2 separate regions of the Homo sapiens genome follow, and region 2 is linked to region 1. Evidence: promoter capture Hi-C in human tissues and cell types (Jung and others, 2019). All regions are on one chromosome and are shown on one strand. The core of a region is centred on a gene start or on the middle of the fragment in contact, and the rest is flanking DNA. Distances in the headings are between cores, read along the strand shown.

Region 1 (4,490 bases), core at 1,334-3,833:
AAGGATTCCACGCCATCCCCAGAGTGCTGTGGTTATGATAATAACCAAAAAAAAGAGCATGGCACAGATTCAAGTCACAGTCCCCCAAATCAGAAGAAGAGGCTCACTTGGATGGCTCTTTTCCTCCCAGCCTCCTGTATCTGAGAAATTTCAAGAATCCAAATACTCCTCAGTGCCCAATCACTCCAACACCTGTGAATCTAAACGTTTGCAGATTTGTAGCTTCTTTGACATAGAATATCAGGAAAGGCCTTGCAAAAGGCAGGGCTGCTTCCTGGGCTGGGTCCATCTTTCTAATCCCAATACTCAGTTTCCTTCTAACTCTACAGCTGGAATCTCCAAATACTCTTGACTAAGCTCACACCACTTCCACCCCAGCAAGGGCAGAAGCTAGAGCCCTGAAGTCAAGTGTGGTCATAGGAATTTTAGTGACTTGGGAGCAGGAGCAAGCATGCCCGCTCTGCTCTGTAGTATACATCTGGGCAAACGGGTCACCCTCTGACAGCAAGGATACAGGAAAATTGGAAGAGATTTTCCCAACTCAGCTCCAAGTAAAACTCCACTTGAAACTCCAAGTGAAACAGTCTCAGCTCCAAACAGGTGCCCTAACTACACCGCCTGCTCAGAATGGTCTAGAAGCCTCTTGGACCATGCCCAGCAGAGAAGTCTGTAGGAGAAGCGGCAGTGAAGGAGGGATGCTCGCAGTACTTGAGTCTGGCCTGTCACTGCAACCCACAAAATCTCTCAATGATTCCCTCCACCCCAATCCAGGCTTTCCAGGCCCAGTACAGAGAGGGGACAACGTGTTACCCGAGAGAAATGTAGCAAGCGCTGACCTTGGATCACCTTCAGTTCTACAACCCTTGAAAGGAGACCTCAGGAGGTGTCCGAGAAGACTCAGCCGCCCATACAATAGGGGTGGGCCGTTCCCGCCCTCTCCAACACCATCCTCACGGCGTCTCCTATCGGTCTTGGACACAAACTGCAGCTCCGGGGCGGCAACTTCCTGGGTTCCGGCCCCTCGGCGCCTGATCCAGGAGGCGCTGATTGGCCGCGCCAGGCCAACACCTTCGGAAAGCGCAGGCTCTCCTCCAATGGCCCAGATGCACGTGAGCCGCCGCTCCGCGGAGCGTGGGAGAGGGCTCTCCCTGGAAACTCCACAGAGTTGGAGTCGGAAGAGATCAACGAGGTTTAAACTCGGAGGCATTGCACGATACAAAGGGGATTTGGAGCGCTAGGGGAGGTGACCCTAAAGAACGGGACTATCTGGGTGCAAAGTGACGGCAGATCAACTCACCTGCCTGGTGAAGAGGATGGCAGTGTCCCAGTACTCGGGGTGCTTGTCACTCACTTTGTTCAGCTTCTTCTGCCAGGCACAGAAGTTGCGCAGCGTCAGGGCCGCATTGCCGGTGACCTTGGGCCCGGAGTCACGATCTCTAAGAAGCAGCACCTTGACCACAACGATGTTGATGGGGTTGAGGATGCTGGGATGGCGGTAGAGTCGCGCCGCCGTTGCCAGCAGCGTCAGCAGATAATGTTCCAGGTCCGCGCCGTGGAACTTGACCATTGACTCGTCCGCGACCACCAGCGTCTCCACGTACCGCGGGATAGACACGAAACGCTTGGCGCGCCCAGACCTGCGCCGGCTACGACTCTCCCCGAAGCCCGCCCGCCGCGGCTTGTAAGGGTCCAGGGCCCGTAGGATGGCGGGGTTCCAGCCCGAGGCCACCCCGCAGCGAGAGGTGGGGTCTCCGGAAGGCCCGCCCGGAACACCCCGGCGCTGGAGAAGGTGTGCGCCCTGGCTGTTGCGCTGCGCCGCCGGCGCGCTAGCATTGGGCAGCGGGCTAATGACATACTCGGCGCCTCGGTAGCCAAAGGCTCCGCGGAGCCCCCCGCACAGGCTCACAGCAGCGAACGAGTCCGGCTCGGCGTTCACGTCCCCAGAATAGAAGCAGCGTCGCAGGTCTGAAGAGCCCCCGGTGAGCCCCTGGAGGGGGACGCCCAGATGCTCAGTGGAGAAGGCGGGAGCCAAGAACTGAGCATCCGGCGTCAGGTGTAGGTAAAAGTCCTCCTGAAATGCTGTGATCTGAAAAATGAGTCCCTGATCCCCGGAGTCCTCGGGACCCCGCCAGTAGTAGCGGCGGCCGTTAATGTCCGGGTCCAGTCGGATGGGAACGACTACCTCCCGCTCTGGCTCAGAGCCTCCAGCGGTTCGCCCGGCGAAAGCCAGGGTTAGGATGCCCAGCAGAAGCATGGCGCCGGGCAGCGCACCGCCGCGCTGTGGGAAGGGGCTGGGCCGGGCTCTCCGGCCGCTGCCGCGGTCTCCGTGCAGCCCGCACTCTGGAACCGCCAACGCTACGGGACAGCCGGCAGTTCCCAGAAAGGAGAGCCAAGGGAGGGAGACTCCTCCCAGGGCGGCGAGCGTGCACCCGGCAGCCCGCGCTTCCTACCTGTGCCTTTCCAAGCAAAGCGCGCCCTGGGAGCTTAAGTACAATCGCTGTCAAGTGCAAGGACGAAGATTTGCAGCCGAGAACTAGCGGAAGGTGCCGGGCGGCTTCTCGCAACCGCAGCCACTCGCAGCGCAGCAAGCCAGGCGCTGGGCGAGCCTATTAAAGGCCCCCTCCTCTTTGGACGGCCCAGTCAGCGCCCCTCCCCTCACTCCCCTCCCAGCCTCCCAGAGCTCGCTGCCGGAGCCTCCAGGGGCCACCGGAGAACTCGGTCCCGCCTCCAGAGCGGAGAGCCACTTGGCGGGGAGGGAGTGGCATTGAGCTGAGGCAGGAGGCGTGGGCTGGCCCGAGAAACCGGCGCTGAAGTCTCAGTTTGCGTTTTGCTCTTGGTTATGCCCCACTGTCCCGACGCCTCACTCGCTTCTGCCCCCGCGGACAGCGTTCACTCTCTGGGTCTTAGTCTTTTATCTCAGGGCAGATCAGGTCAGCAGCTAGGAATGAAGACCCTTCACTGACCCGTCCCCAGGCCCACCTCATCCCTGCTGTTGCAACATCCCTGCTGTTTCTTAATCACAGAGTCCCCTAAAAGACCCAGAATCAAGAACCACCCCCCCCCCCGCGTAAATGTCCTATTGCCAGAAGAGCAATAGGACAGGGGCATGGGAGCCCTCTGGAACCCAAGACCGCCTAGCCCCAAGGTCTGCCCTGGGCCCATGGTGTGCTGGATGGGCTGGGGCAAACTCTTCAGTTCTCAGGAATCTTGCCAGCCAGCTGTTAATCACGGACATTATTAAAAATTAAACTAAACACACTTACAATTAAACAAAGTGTATATATATATATGCACACACACACACATACATATATATACACATACATATATATATATACATACACACACACACACACACACACACATATATATATATATTTTTTTTTTTTTGAGACGGAGTTTTGCTCTTGTTGCCCAGGCTGGAGTGCAATGACGCGATCTCAGCTCACCGCAAACTCCGCCTTCCGGGTTCAAGCCATTCTCCTGTCTCAGCCTCCCAAGTAGCTGGAATTACAGGCATGCACCACCACGCCCAGCTAATTTTGTATTTTTAGTAAAGACAGGGTTTCTCCATGTTGGTCAGGCTGGTCTCGAACTACCGACCTCGGGTGATCCTCCTACCTTGGTTTCCTACCTCCTACCTTGGTCTCCTGAGTAACTGCGACCACAGACACACGACACCACGCTAGGCCAATTTGTGTGTGTGTGTGTGTGTGTGTGTGTGTGTGTGTGTGTGTGTGTGTATTTTTGGTAGAGACTGGGTTTCGCCGTGTTGCCCAGGCTGGTCTTGAACTCCTGAGCTCAAGCAATCCACCCACCTCGGCCTCCCGGTGCGGGGACTACAGGCGTGAGCCACCATGCCTAGCCACAAAGTACATTTTTAAAAGGTAATAAATACTCAAAACCCGTCGCTTCCTAAGTATTTGATAATTACTTATGGTCTTGAGCCACCAGAACCGCCAACCCTCTGAGACAGCAACTCCCAGAAAAGAGTGCAGAATGGGGTGGAAATGTGAGGGAAATATTAAATGGTGTGCTGCCCTGCATCTCCCCAGTCAGGGACATCACAATGGCTTGAAATAGGTCCTGGTAGAAGTATTTACACCACCTGAATAAGCAAATCAGAGCTGGGGTTGGGGGCAGGAAGATGAGCCCTTGTACACAGCTACCTGCCTGGCAGGGATGTGGAGATCAGGTTCTGGGGCTGCAGTTACAAGAGGAAGAGGCTGTCTTCCAGCAAACAGTAGAAAAATCGGGCCAGGCTTCCTCCATGAAATTATCTCATTTGACCCTTGACCAAACCCTGGACTGGGGACTGGCATAGGAGGCCGAGTGAGTATCAGCTGGAGAAGATGCAATCGCACCTTATGTTCCCATCTAGTTTGGAGAACAGCCCAAGGAGTTTTTCAGGCTCTAGACCTCAAGATCCTTCTTACCTCTCCGCAGAATCAACTTCTTTCTCTGACAAGGGAGAAAGGCAAGGAGAGGAG
Region 2 (4,537 bases), core at 1,372-3,871, 160 kb before region 1:
AGGAGTCTCTATCCCTCACAAGAGGCTTATTTGATGCTCTTAGATGATTTTTCTCATGGGAAGAACATCTTTCTCCTTTAAGCACCCAGGGGCCCCGGCCCCAGCTCTGCCCTCCCTATACTTCCGTATGCTATTCCCATTTATTTTTAATTTCATCTCAATCTTCTTTTTTTTCCCATCAACTATGATTTGAAATTTATTTTGAGATCAACCCCTGGGGCCAGAGCTAGGAATCAAGTGGTGCTGCTGGACAGTGACCTAGGGACTTAGGTCCCATCAAAGGTGGTGGCTTATTTCTTAAGCTGGTTCCCCTCTAGGATTAGCACAGAGGTGTCTAGTGCAGGCTTCCCAAGACTTTCAAACTAGAAATTTGCAGGTGAGACTGACAAGACAATATGGGTGATCCAGAACTATCACTGAGCCCCAGGAGCATTGGTAGAAAGCCTGCTCCAACAACCACAAACCGGGTTTAAGGCATACCCATACATAGGGCCTTTTCATTTATTCATTGGCCCCCATCAGAGCCCTCTGTTCCAAATGAAGAGCTACCGAGAGCAGGAGCTCCATCTTTATCATGCACTATGCAAATGTGCAAATGTTAATGCTTGCTTGCGGGATGTCTCACCCACACAGGGAATTGCTGCACACCTGCTCACAGGGCCTGTGCTAGGCGTGTGAAGGAGGCACAGCGTGAGAGAGCGAGAATCTCTCCTTCAGGAAGCTCAATCTAGCGGGAGACGCAGGGCCATTCCTGAGCCACTGACAGGAGACAGAGGGGTCTTGGTGCTGTAAGTGAGGGATGAGGAAAGGACAGGGAAGCCAGAGAGGTCTCAGAGGAGTTTCAGGAAGGAATTAGGGAGGAAGTAGAGTGTGATCCATGGGTGTGGTTGGACACGAGGAAAGGGCCATCATGGCAGAGGGGGCAGTGTGAGCAAAGGCCCCTGTGGTGCCAGGTGTGGGGGATGCTGGATCTGAGCGAGGACTGGGGAAGGACAAGAGAATGAGTGTGAAGGGGAAGGCAAGCAGAGCAGCTGAATGCCAAACTGGGACAATAAACTGTTTCCAAATGATAGTGATGTGGGTCCTTGTGACCCTCCCTTAAGGAAGCTGCTCACTGCCTTCCTCTGCATCCCACTCTTGATAGCATCCCAAGCCATCCAAGTCCCCGGGTGAAAGGGGCCCAGCTTTGCAGCCCCAGGGCAGCCAGGTCCACTCAGAGCAGCCCAGAGTGCATACCTGTCTTCTCACCCAAGACACCCGGACGGTGGCAGGCTGGCAGAAATGATACTCCAGGACCCTCCTCCCGGGGAACTAATAGCCCAATAATCCCACAAGAGTCACTACTGTAGAACAGCAAAAAGCCAGCAAAACTGAAAAACAAACAGGGATGCTCTGGCGAGAGCCAAGCTGCTCTTTGGGCCCTCAGATTTGGGGTGTACCTGGACATCGTCTCCTGACTTACTCATTTTGGCACATCACAGAGCACACAGCATTGAGGCCCTCTACCCCACAATGATCCCCACCCACCACCTCCATGTGACAGTTCGGTTTCCTGTTCAAACTATTGAGGCAGCTCCAGCCCAGACCAGAAGGAAGCCGACAACATGGGAGTCTGGTTAGCAGCGCCTTCCACCCAGGCCCACCCCACCTGCCCTGAGCACCGCTATCTCTCTGAGTGATTATGAAGTCAAACGGCTCCCTTCCCTATTGCTGCAAACAAGCCCATGTGGGCTGTGAGACACCCCAGATCCAGGAAGCCCCAGGGCTCAGCTGACAGCTCAATTACCGTGGAGCGTCTACCCCCACCCTCCCTCCACCTCCTCCTCAGCCTTTTATTGCTTTTGGCAGCCTAGCAATGGGGGAGCCTCAAGTCAAGCTTGTTGAAAGTGCAAAAGGAGAGAAAATTGTTCTCATCTGAATAAATAGAGTCAGCTGTTGCCAGAGGGTGACATCTCCCCAGGGTGAGTTCCCCTAGACCAGGCAACCCCGTGTTGGGCTTAGATGGGCACTTGAACACAGGCCAGCGATATCTGGGTGACGCTGGAGAGGGCTGCCAAGTGGATGCTTCGTGGCTTTGGAATGCCCCAGTGGGAGGTAAGGGGGCAGGGGTTAGAAGGATTGGATCAGGAAGGAACACCATAGGTCAGCACACACTGGTCCTTCCACATCAGCAAGGGACGGGGAGGGGACAGTGGGCCCCAGCCACCACAGAACCCACTTCACAAGTTATGTCTCTGACCCCTTAGGCATGGGGCCCATGGGTGGAGTCTCTGACTCTTGCATCTGGATCTGAGAAGAGGCCCATGCAGTGAGCTGGTGCCCAGGCTGCTTCCTGACATCCGGAGAACATGGCCAAGCTGCTTTGGGAAGGTCACTCCACCCTATGAAACAGTAAGCCTGTCCCAGAAACTCAGAAAGCTTTTCCATCCTGAGAGTTACACCAAAAGGGCTCAGGAAAGGGAAGCAAAGAGCAGAGGTGAAGGGAGGTGTGGGGAGTGATGGGGAATATGTGGGAAGAAGGAGGAAGAACAGGGATGCTTGTGGTATTCCAGAAAGAGCACTAAAACCAAGTCCAGAGACCAGATTCTAGTTCCTGTTCCTTTCTAAATGAGCTAGATGGCTTCAGCTAGGCCCTAACTCTCAGGCCTAAGAGAGCAGCTGAGCTAGATGTTATCTGAGATCTTGTCAAACTTTCAACTAATATGTGGAAATCAAAAACCAGAACGATTTGAAGTAACTCCAGTCCTGTTCAGTGCCCTTTCCCCTGGACCCAACTCTAATATGGCCATGAAAGAAAATGACACACCAACCACCACTTCCTGGCATCGCTCCCAACGCAGCCTCCCTGGTCCTCTCTGCTCCAGAGATGGAGAGCAAATCCTTGTCATCTTAAGACCTAGAGATGCTGCTGCACAGGCGTACTGAGATAAACCAAATCATATGGAAAATGCTTTTCTTTCTGCTCTAGTGGAAAAGCATCCAAAGAAATGAAGTGTTGGACAGCAGTGTTTCTCCCTCCAAAAGGCAGGCAAAACCCAACAGGACAGGCCATTGACAAATGACAAAAGAAACATCCCTTGTACTGAAACATCTTCACGTAAGAAGGGGCTACCTGACATGTTATAATAGTTTTCCCATCCAAGCCAGCTTTATGCCTTGCGTTTATGTGGTGTTTGACAGTTTACAAGGTACAGCATATAGATGACTTCACTTCATCCTCACAACCTCCAAGTAAGGGAGGTGGCATTAGCCTCCCTGTGCAGATGAGAAACGGAGGCCGAGAGATGCTGGGATGTTCTGCGTTTCCCCCATTGCACGCTGTCATCTCCCAGAAGGATCATCTTTTGGGGGTGGGGTAAAGGACAGATAAAAAGAGGGTAGGGTAGTGATGAGTGCAAAAGACCAGGGAAAAGGAGTCCCAGGTTCCGTTTCAGGGTACATCTCATATCCCTGTTTCTCGATACCCCTCCGTCTTCCTCAACCATCTCAACATATGTCAAAAATGTCAGTGCTTCCTTGCCAGGATCTGCAGCTACAGGGTAACAAAAATAATTTCATAAAACTGCGAGGAGACACCTTAGGGATTGCCTAATCTACCCTGTCATTTTACAATGAGGACATTGAAGCCCAGGTTGGTGAAATGAGTTGCCTGGGGTTACCCAGCTGGCAAGCAGCAGGGCCTGGATTAGAACTTGCTGTCCTGACCCCAGACCACATGGGGACAAGCGAGGATGCCTGGGCCAATGGGAGGAACTGAGAAGGACCTGAGAAGCTCCAAACACAGCCTACCCCTCTGCATTGCCCCCACCTCACCCCCGGAGTCACACCCCCAGGCCCATATACTCCACACCAAAGTTGGGGACTGAGCCAAGAAGCCTTCCTCTCACTCATATGGAAGGACTCTGATACTCATGTCTGAGGCACTGACTCCAACTGGGAACCTCCCACCAATCCAAACACAGCAGACTGGTCAGAAAGCTTTGGTTTTTTTCCTGTTGTTTATGGAGCCACACTCTGGAGGCCTGAGTCCATCTGACATAACCACAGGGCTGGTGCAGTAGAAGAGCTTCCACCTGGGGCTGCGAGAAAGCCGCCTGCAGCCAGGGAGTTCTCTCCTCATTGCAGTCTCTTCCACTTCTCCTTTGTTCACTCAACACTCACTGGATATGCTCTTTGCCAGGTCACATGCTAGGAACAAGACCCACAGACCTGTATTAAACAGAAACACCACCTTCAAAGAGTCCTCATTCCTGCGAGAAGCAAATCACATCAACTTTTTCTGGACAAACTCCATGAATCCAAGGGGATTGACTTCATTACTTGAGAAACCAAAGCAATGGAATTCCAGCCTGGCAGGTCAACTAGACCTGGAAGCTCCAACTCAGTGACCCAAGGCTATAAATTTATTAAGGACAGGAACTTATCCTCTCCTCTTCATAACCTTCTTTCCCCCTCAGAGCCTAACACAGTGCTTGGCAAACAATAATCACACACATATTTGTTAGATGAAAAAAACAGAATGCATGAATATCCCATG

The links. Contacts are between HindIII fragments. The study calls those that stand out against the background at their distance.
Region 2: a contact is called between a fragment that was not itself captured here and the fragment with the promoter of ADAMTS15 in region 1, in 2 of the 25 tissues and cell types used here (aorta and bladder).

The regions. Positions count from the first base shown.
Region 1 is chr11:130,446,738-130,451,227 of GRCh38, reverse strand. ADAMTS15 (ADAM metallopeptidase with thrombospondin type 1 motif 15) reads right to left here and starts at 2,583. Exons shown (of 8, transcript NM_139055.4): 1 at 1,298-2,583. The coding sequence starts at 2,254. The HindIII fragment of the contact is 14,209 bases long and covers 1-4,490 here.
Region 2 is chr11:130,604,614-130,609,150 of GRCh38, reverse strand. No RefSeq gene overlaps it. Among named protein-coding and RNA genes, the nearest start is that of MIR8052, 60 kb to the left of the region's middle. The HindIII fragment of the contact is 3,601 bases long and covers 821-4,421 here.